Regions from separate parts of the Homo sapiens genome. Here region 2 is linked to region 1. Evidence: promoter capture Hi-C in human tissues and cell types (Jung and others, 2019). All regions are on one chromosome and are shown on one strand. The core of a region is centred on a gene start or on the middle of the fragment in contact, and the rest is flanking DNA. Distances in the headings are between cores, read along the strand shown. Region 1 overlaps MRTFA (myocardin related transcription factor A). Region 2 holds the start of CACNA1I (calcium voltage-gated channel subunit alpha1 I).

Evidence for each region. The method cuts DNA at HindIII sites, captures the fragments that hold promoters and counts their contacts. A contact is called where the count stands out against the background at its distance.
Region 2: a contact is called between the fragment with the promoter of CACNA1I here and a fragment that was not itself captured in region 1, in 1 of the 25 tissues and cell types used here (dorsolateral prefrontal cortex).

Annotation. Positions count from the first base shown.
Region 1 is chr22:40,626,637-40,631,523 of GRCh38, forward strand. All of the region lies in intron 1 of MRTFA (myocardin related transcription factor A), which reads right to left. Among named protein-coding and RNA genes, the nearest start is that of MRTFA, 7.6 kb to the right of the region's middle. The HindIII fragment of the contact is 9,289 bases long and covers 1-4,887 here.
Region 2 is chr22:39,567,959-39,572,845 of GRCh38, forward strand. It overlaps CACNA1I (calcium voltage-gated channel subunit alpha1 I), which reads left to right and starts at 2,795. Exons shown (of 37, transcript NM_021096.4): 1 at 2,795-3,030. The coding sequence starts at 2,795. The HindIII fragment of the contact is 10,754 bases long and covers 1-4,887 here.

The sequences.
Region 1 (4,887 bases), core at 901-3,400:
ATATACACATATATATGGCAAACTCAAAAAGACTACTTTAAATATATCCATCATATAACTAAATACGAAACACAAAGCCAGGGCCAGGCATAGTGGCTCATGCCTGTAGTCCCAACACTTTGAGAGTTCAAGGCGGGAGAACTGCTTGAGGCCAGGGGTTCAAGGTTACAGTGAGCTACGATCGTGCCACTGCGATCCAGCCTGTGTATCAGAATGAGACCCTGTCTCAAACACACACACACACACACACACACACACACACACTAACTAAAGCCAAAGTTTCAACCATGATAACACCACTCTAACACCAAAATTCAACACAGTGCATTCTAAAATATTAGGAAAGGACAACTTTCCAAGTTCCTGTAAATTTTGTGGTAGAGAAAATATGTACAAATTAACCACAATCAAGAGACCCTGGATCACTTACCCCATTTACAATTTAAAAGATACTGAAACACTGACAAAAAAAAAAATTCTAAAAATGTGGATATTACAGTATGCCTTTATTTGGTAATTTTTTTGTTTCTGAGACAGTCTCACTCTGTTGCCCAGGCTGGAGTGCAGTGGCACAAACACAGCTCACTGCAGCCTCGATCTCCCGGGCTCATGCACTACAAGTGCATGTCACCATGCTGAGCTACTTTTTTTACTTCTTGTAGACACACGGTCTTGTCATGTTGCCCAGGCTGGTCTTGAACTCCTGGGCTCAAGTGATCCTCCCACCTTGTCCTCCCAAAGTGCTGGGATTACAGGTGTAAGCCATAATGCCTGGCCCTTATTTGGCAAGTATTAATTGAGCAACTTAAGATGTGAGGTTACTATTATAGTTTTCCACCTCAGGAATGGCAACCAGATACATATAATGAATACCGCACAGAATATTTTCTGAGCTATAACATCTTGATTACTACTACAAAGAGTTCTCACTATAACTGACATTTTCGCTAACTATGCAAAAGACACTGAACACGAAAAGACATTTACTAGAGGCAAAGTTAGGAACTTCATATACATCATGGTAGGAAGCCAGAATTATTTAATTCAAAAACAGATCTGGATTCAAATCCTGGCCAGGCACAGCGGCTCATGCCTGTCATCTCAACAGTTTAGGAGGTCAAAGCGTGAGGGCAAGAGTTCAAGATCAGCCTGGGGAACACTGTGACACCCCGCCTGCACAAAAAAATTTAGCCGGGCATGATGGCACACGCCTATAGTCCTAGTTATGCAGGAGAACTGCTTCAGCAGTTTGAGGTTACAGGAGTTTGAGGACACAGTGAGCTATGACCCTGCCACTACACTCATGTCTGGAAGACAAAGCAAGACTCTGTCTAAAAAAAACAAAAAAGCAAAACAACAACAAAAATCCTGTTATCTAGAAGTTCCTCTAGAAGCTTCTCTTTGCTCATCTGCAAAATGCTGCTACTACCACTTATTTCAGAGTTCATATGAGGATTAATAAGGTAGCACAATGTCTACTATAAAGTAGATGCCCCTATTACTTCCCTCTTTACATTTCTTCATAATCCTTATAACGACCTCATGTTGTAAGGATTATTAACTCTAGTTTACAGATGAAGAAGCTGAATCACAGGAAGGTTAAGGAGTAAGCCTACAGTCACATACCTGGTAACTGTCAGTACCCAGATCTGCTGTGCCCTAAAACTTGACATGGACATGTTACCTCACTGGATATTTTACTCTGTCATATTATGAAGTTCAGAACTTTGTTTGAATTATGCCCATTATGCTTTAAATTTTAATACAAGAACAATTATTTTCAAAAACCAGAATCACCCATAATTTCCACTCATAATTTTAGAGGACAAAGACCTGTAAATAGCCTACCTATCTAGAAATTCAGTAACAGAGGACACACTCCAGATCTCAAAATGAACTAGCCAAATTACTCATTACAAGCTCTCATTTACACAGAGAATGATTTCTAAATGCATATCAATAAGAATGAGTGGGGAGCAAATGAACCAAACATACCACAGAAGTAAAAATGTGGAAGTAAAAAAAAAAAAAGACATTTTCACAACGCTCTTTCTTCCAAGGATTCTACAGATCTTCTATTACTGCTATATGAGCCGGCCTTAAATACTGTGTGAGGAACTGGCCTGGGCTCAGCCCCTGGACTGTTGTGGAACTCAAATCATTTAATTTCACAGTGCCTCCTCCCACTAAACAATGAGAGAACTGGACTTGAGTCATGAACCACAGAACTGAAGGCAACTTGAGCAATTAGTTCCACCCAATGCACCCTGACAGGTCACCCAATTTCTGCTTTAACACCTGCAGTGACACAGAGTGTAATTATCTTCTCTCCTCATACATGTGATATGGATTCAGTATTTTTAAGAATTTTGGCCAGGCACGGTGGCTCACACCTGTAATCCCAACACTTCGGGAGGCCAAGGCAGGAGGATTGCTGTGGCCAGGAATTTGAGACTAGTCTAGGCAATATAGCAAGACTCTCTTCTCTTCTCTACAAAAAAAATTTTTTAAATTAGCCAAGCAGAGGCTGGGCGCGGTGGCTCACATGTGTAATCCCAGCACTTTGGGAGGCCGAGGCGGGCGGATCACTTGAAGTCAGGAGTTTGAGACCAGCCTGTCCAATATGGTGAAACCCCGTCTCTACCAAAAATACAAAAAAATTAGCCGGGCATGGTGGCACATGCCTGTAGTCCCAGCTACCTGGGAGGCTGAGGCAGGAGAATGGCTTGAACCCGGGAGACGGAGGTTGCAGTGAGCCAAGATCGAACCACTGCACTCCAGCCTGGTCAACAGAGCAAGACTCCGTCTCAAAACATAATTAAAAAAAAAAAAATTACCCAAGCAGGCCAGGCACAGTGGCTCACGCTGTAATCCCAATACTTTGGGAGGCCGAGGCGGATGGATCGCCTGAGGTCAGGAGTTCGAGATCAGCCTGGCCAACATAGTGAAACTCCGTCCCTACTAAAAAAAATATATACATATACAAAAAATTAGCTGGGCGTGGTGGTGGGTGCCTATAATCCCAGCTACTCGGGAGGCTAAGGCAGGAGAATTGCTTGAACCCAGGATGCGGAGCTTGCAGTGAGCCGAGATCCCGCCACTGCACTCCAGCCTGGGTGACAGAGCAAGATTCCATCTCAAAAAAAAAAAAAAAAAAAAAAAAATTAGCCAAGCATGGTGGTACATGCTGTTGTCCTAGCTACTCAGGAGGCAGAGGCAGAAGGATCACTTAAGACAAGGAGTTTTGAGGTTGCAGTGAGCTATGATCCCACCATATGCTTCACAAGAGCTTAGAGGTGGAACTAGGGCCCACACTAATACCTAGAATGAGAACCTGTGTGGCTGAGTTTGAGGGACAAGGTTAATCTGGAGGGCATTTAAAAGGTACAGGACTGGCCAAGCACGGTGGCTCATGCTTATCATCCTAGCGCTTTGGGAGGCCAAGGCAGGCGGATCACCTGAGGTCAGGAGTTTGAGACCAGCCTGGCCAACATATAGTGAAACCCTGCCTCTACTAAAAAATACAAAAATTAGCTGGGCATGGTGGCACATACCTGTAATCCCAGCTACTTGGGAAGCTGAGGCAGGAGAATCGCTTGAACCTGGGAGGCGGCAGTTGCAGTGAGCCATGATCACACCACTGTGCTCTACCCTAGGCAAGAGAACGAGACTCTGTCTCTCAAAAAATAAAAATAAAAAAATAAAAGGTACAGGCCTGGGTGTGGTAGCTGGATGACAGAGTGAGACTCTGTCTCTTTAAAAACAAAACAAAAGAAACAAACAAAAAAACACCTGGGCAGTTTTTAAGTCAACAGAATCGTTTTTCTGTTGTACAAAATCAGAGATTTCAGACTTCAACTTGGAGAAAGCTGAATCCATTTCTATTTCCTTTCCTTTCGACGTAACAAATCTACTTCCTAAAGTAGTAAAATGGAAGTCATCTTCATTAGGAAGATCACTACTGCCTCTAAAGAGTTTATCTAAACTGATGCAGTTTCACAAAATCCGTCCTTTGAATTCCTAAACTTCTATACTCCAGATTTAGAAGTTTCTTATAATTAACTTTCTAATTTATTTATTTACTTGAGACAGTGTCTCATCTGTTAACCAGGCTGGAGCACAGTGGTGTGATCACAGCTCATTGCAGCCTCAAACTCCTGGGCTCAAGCAATCCTCCTGTCTCAGCCTCTCACATGGCTGGGATTATAGGCATGAGCCACAGTACCAGGCCTATACCTTTGAAATTCCCTCCAGGTTAACCTTGTCCCTCAAACTCAGCCACACAGGTTCTCATTCTAGGTATTTTTATTATGGGCCCTAGCTCTTGTGAAGCACATGCTCTTTTAAGTACTGCTTCCAGCTAAACCCATTCTACAGACAGAGAGCCCAGTAAATTCAAAGATACAAGATGGTAAGAGACACCCTTAATGGCAACTTGTGCACCTCCTTGGGTCTTATTTTAACTGTGGAATTCACCTAAATAAAGCCACTGGTTCACTCTACTTTGTAAAATAAAAATTATCTAGATGTAGGTACTTGACATAGAAAAATTGATGGTGAAGCAGCAATGGTTAACATTTAAATGCCTCCTTCTGCATACTCATATCAGTCTATATTCATTCATCTCTCTGACTCCAAACTAATTCACCCAGTCAGTTCTACGCTACTGCCCAAAACCAATGATGATCATAATAACCATGATAATGACATGCATGTAAAGCTGTTCCAAGGACTTTATATATTTTTATTTAATCCTCACAGCAACAATATGAAGCAGGCCCCATTTTTATCCCCATTTTACAGCTAGTGAGTCACAGAGAATATAAAGTAGCAAGAGTATCATAGTCACACAGTCCAAGTTCATACACACGGCCGGCAAGTAGAGCC
Region 2 (4,887 bases), core at 1,545-4,044, 1.1 Mb before region 1:
CGCTTGTGTTCCTTAAATGCACCGAGCGGGCCCCATTCTCCTGGCCTTCGCACGTGCTCTTCCTCCTGTGCTCTTCCAGCAGATCAGTCAGGGCTGCGGCCTCCCGCGTCTTGGTTTTCACTTAAACATCTCTTCCTTTAGAGAGGGCAAGATGATTGTCTCCACTCCCACCTTTCCCCTTGTTTATTTACTTCCCAGCACTTTTTATTCACTGAGTCAACAAATATCGATTGAGCACCTAGTATGCTCCAGGCACCATTCCAGGTGCTGGGGATACAGCAGTGAGGGGATACACCTCCCTTACAGGCTTCTCTTAGGCTGGGGAGACAGACACCAAATCATGGAGATATAAAGACATAAATTATGCACCGTGTTTGATGGTGATAAGAGTTGTGGAAAAGCAGAAAGAGAGAAATTAATTGATCGGTGTGTCTCTCTCCTCTGCGGAAGTGTGGGCTGAATGGGGGCTGGTGCTGAGTCTGGCTCGTGCCCCAGCATAGCCCGAAGCCCACACAGTGCCCACACATAGTAGGTGCTCATTGGGCAAATGAATGAATCAGTAGGGCCTGGGAGAACAGGGCCTGGGCGGAAGGAGAAGGTGCCCCAGTGAGAGGGAAGAGCGGGAGCAGGGCCTAGGACCTGAGGAGGTCCAATCTGGCCAGAGCAAATGGCCAGGGGAGGGAGTGGTGGGCTCCGAGGCTGGCACGGTGGTGGGCAGAGCTGGAACCACCCTAGGGAGGGTGCGTTTCAGCCCAGGAGGTTGACACGTGGCAGGCCAAGGTGCCTGGGAGCTTATGTAAGGCCCGTGGCTGTTTTTCTGGAATCAAGAGCAAAGCCCTGAGCTCAGGAGAAAACTCCGCCTCCCTGACCAGCCAGGGGAAGTGGCAGGAGGTGCCAACCCCTGCCCGTTGCCCCCGGGAGCCAGAGAAATGTCCAAATGCATCAGCTCCGGGTGGCTTGGTCGACAGCCCAGCAGCAGCTGGGTGGGCACCAGGGACGTGGACCCCATCTCTCAATCCCACGGCTCAGACTGGCCCTGTAGGGGTTCTAGGATCCCAGGGACCCCAGTGGACAAAGTTTTAGGGACTAGTACCCTTTGGGGTGAGGTGGTGAGGGGCAGGCCCTGGGAGTGGCTGTCCGTCCCATCTTGCCATTGACTGGTTGCGGAGGCTCTCGGCCAGCGAGGGCACCATCAGTTGTCATGAAGCCCGCCTGGGGGTCTGGTGCTGGGATTCTGGCCTCTCAACACCACCTAGTGCTTCACTTGGCTGGGTGCATAGCCTTGACAACCCGCTTTGTTCTCTTGGCCTCAGTTTCTTCACCTGCCAAATGGGCATAATAGTCCTCCTGAGGTTGTTGTGAGCATCAGACAAGGCCAGGGAGTAGAAGTGCTTTGAGTTGGAGTCGGAGCCAGCAAGATGATTTGCATCACCTAGAACAAAATGAAAATGTGGGACCTCTTGATAAGCAATTAAGAATTTCATGTTGGTGACAGAAGAATTCTAAAGCAAGTTCAGGGCCCTTCTGAGCACGGGGCCCTGTGCAGCTGCCTGAGCCACAGACCCAGGAAGCGGGCTCTGACCGGAATTCTTTTTTTTTTTTTTTTTTGGTGACAGAGTCTTGCTCTGTTGCCCAGGCTGGAATGCAGTGGTGTGATCTTGGCTCACTGCAACCTCCACCTCCCGGGTTCAAGTGATTCTCATGCCTCAGCTTCCCGAGTAGCTGAGATTACAGCGTGTGCCACCACACCCAGCTAATTTTTGTATTTTTAGTACAGATGAGGTCTCACTATGTTGGCCAGGTTGGCCTCAAACTCCTGACCTCAGGTGATCCACCCACCTTGGCCTCCCAAAGTGCTGGGATTACAGGTGTGAGTCACGTGCCTGGCCTTTGACTGGAATTCTATTTCTGCTGTTACTCTGCTACATGTCTGTCCTGTCCCTTCTCTGGGCCTCGGTTTCTTCATCTGTAAGGCAAGGAGGTTAGACTCTAAGATTCCTGGGTTCTCAGCCTTGTAAGGCAGTGGCTGGGAGGTCCCTGGGTCAAGGGCTCAGCTGTAGGTCTCAGCTCAGGGGTTACTTCCTCAGGGAAGCCAACTGTGATTCCCTCCTGGCTTGCCAGCGTTCCCCCAGTCTCTGATTCTGCAGCACCCCAACATTGCCTTTGTAACCTGCATTGTCCTGGCAATAATGTCTGTCTTTACAATCACCTCTTTTTTCTTGCAAGTTTTCTTTACCTTTGATGGTGCAATAAATACATAGCTCTAGTCTTGTAAAAAAGTTAAGATCCCTTCCTTCCTTCCTTCCTTCCTTCCTTCCTTCCTTCCTTTCTTCCCTCCCTCCCTCCCTCTCTCCCTCTCTCCCTCCCTTCCGTCTTTCTTTTCTGTCTATAATTACTTAAACATTTTTTCTCTTAAATAATGAAAGATTTCAAATACAGAAAATTGCCAATAGACAAAAAAAAAAGAGTTAATATCACAATTATATTCTAAGAAGGCTTTATTCTCCCCACTATCTTCGTTTGCCAAAACTGAGGCTCAGCCAGGGTGAGCAGACTTGCCCCATGATCACCCAGCTTGGAAGCAGATTCCAAGTTGGGTGCAGCTGGGCCCTCAGCTGTTTCGTAATCCTCATGCAAGAGTGAGGGTGAGGGGCCTGTGGGGCTCAGGTGGGGCTGTCAGAGCTGCATCCGTCCACTTATTGGTGGAGAGGCAGGTTGGGGAGCATGTACCAGGCCTGTCCCCACCACGTGCCACCCTCTCTGTCTTCCCCAGGGCTCCCAGCTCAGTGTGGACATGGCTGAGAGCGCCTCCCCGCCCTCCTCATCTGCAGCAGCCCCAGCCGCTGAGCCAGGAGTCACCACGGAGCAGCCCGGACCCCGGAGCCCCCCATCCTCCCCGCCAGGCCTGGAGGAGCCTCTGGATGGAGCTGATCCTCATGTCCCACACCCAGACCTGGCGCCTATTGCCTTCTTCTGCCTGCGACAGACCACCAGCCCCCGGAACTGGTGCATCAAGATGGTGTGCAACCCATATCCTCCGCAGCCTCGGCTGATCGGGGCCCTGCAGGGGCTGAAGGGTGGGGGGCTGGATTGAGTCCTGCTGCTCACACCTTGCTCCGGCTGGGAGACCTGAGGTCTGCGGTGAGGCCACTGGGCCTTGGTGGTGGTGAGCGAGCTCAGAGGGTGGGTCTGGGGAGACCTCAAATGGATGAGGACCTGGTGTTCTGCTGATGTGAAGGTTCTGGAAGTTGCTGGTGGCTGTGGGGTCAGTCCAGTGGCTGGCTGGCTCAGAAAGTCCTTGAGTGTGGGCCCCAGACCTGTGCTGGGCTGGGAATGCAGATCAGTCAGACTCTGGAGCCACCTGATGGGCCGTGACCATACAGAGGATGGGAGCCGTGATCAGGAACTGTGGGCGTGGGCAGCGGGGCAGCCGATCCCAACACACAGGGCAGGACTCATTCTCCTTACTGTGCCTCCGAGCAGCCTCTTCCCAGGCCTCCTGCCTCCACTTGCTGCCTCCAGTGGGCTCATGTTCCCCCTGCTTAAGACTGTCATGATTTGCTATGGTCCTGGAGGTGCAGAGCAAAGTCCTAATCCAACCCATCAGGGCCTGTGTGTTCCACCCAGCCTCACTTCCCACCACTTGGCTTCCCCCCTGTGCTCTTCTGAGCCTCAGGGTCCTCTCACTGGCTCTTCCCCCTGTCTGAAAAGCTTTTCCCTTCCCCCTGGACCTGGCCAAATCCTTTGCTACATCCTTAAAATCCCAGCTTAAGCATCACCTCCTCAGGGAAGCCCTCTGGGATTCCTCCTCTGCTTCATATCTAACTGTCACATCTAACTGTGGAATTCTGAATCTAACATTTGCCTCCCCTGGGGTACTGTCAGATGACTGGGATGGGGACCCTAGCACCTGGCACAGTGCTTGGCACATCGTGGGTGCTCTGGCAGTGTTTGCTGGGTGTACATGGGCAATGCCAGAGCTGACTCCTCAATAAGGAAGAGCGTTGGTTGGGTAGAGAGGGTAGTGGGAGGCAGGAGGAGGGCATGGCAGGAGCGAAGCCTGGAGAAGGGAGGAGTTGCAGGCAGTGTTGGAGCCCTGAGGGGCAGAGAGGAGTGAGGTGAGGCTGCAGGTGTGGCGGGAGCCCTGCAGGGCCTTGGAGGCTGCATGAGGGATGGGACTGTGCTCCAAGGGCAGGATTTGAAGCAGGGTCTGGAGAGATCTGTGCTCTGGAAGGACTGTGTGGCACTGGCTTGCAGGGTGAAGTGGGGGCTGGGGACCACTGAGGAGGAGGCTTGGGGACCCAAGCCATGGTGGCCTTGTGGTTTGAGGGTCCCACCAAAAAATGCCCATATGTGGCTCGAGGTTCTGGTGCTTGTGGCCACACAGGGCAGGGTGCGGGGAGCTGGTGGGTCAGGTGCAGGCCTGAGTCCTGCCCTGGAATCCAGGGATGCCAGATGCAGGCTGGGATGTTGAGACTGGCTGCAGGACTGCCAGGCTTCCCTTCTGTAGGGGGCTGAGGTGATCGTGGGCCCTGGATCCCCCTAACTTTTGGAAACCAGCGGGTCTCTGCTGGAGTGGGATGCAGAACTGGGTGTTCCTTGCTGGGTGGGGGCTAAGAGCCTCCCTGCTCCTTCTGGGGGACGGCTCACAGCGTCTCAGGCTTGGTGAGAGGGTCTGCTCGGTAATTAGTTCACCCAGCACTCACTGACATCTGCCCTGGGACACTGAGGACAAAGAGGCAGAGCTGGTGTCTGTCCCAGGGAGTGCCCGGGGAAGAGGGAAGCAGGGACCACCCATTTGGCTAGTTTTTTTTTTTAGATGGAGTCTCGCTCTGTCACCCAGGCTGGAGTGCAGTGGCGCGATCTCGGCTCACTGCAACCTCCGCC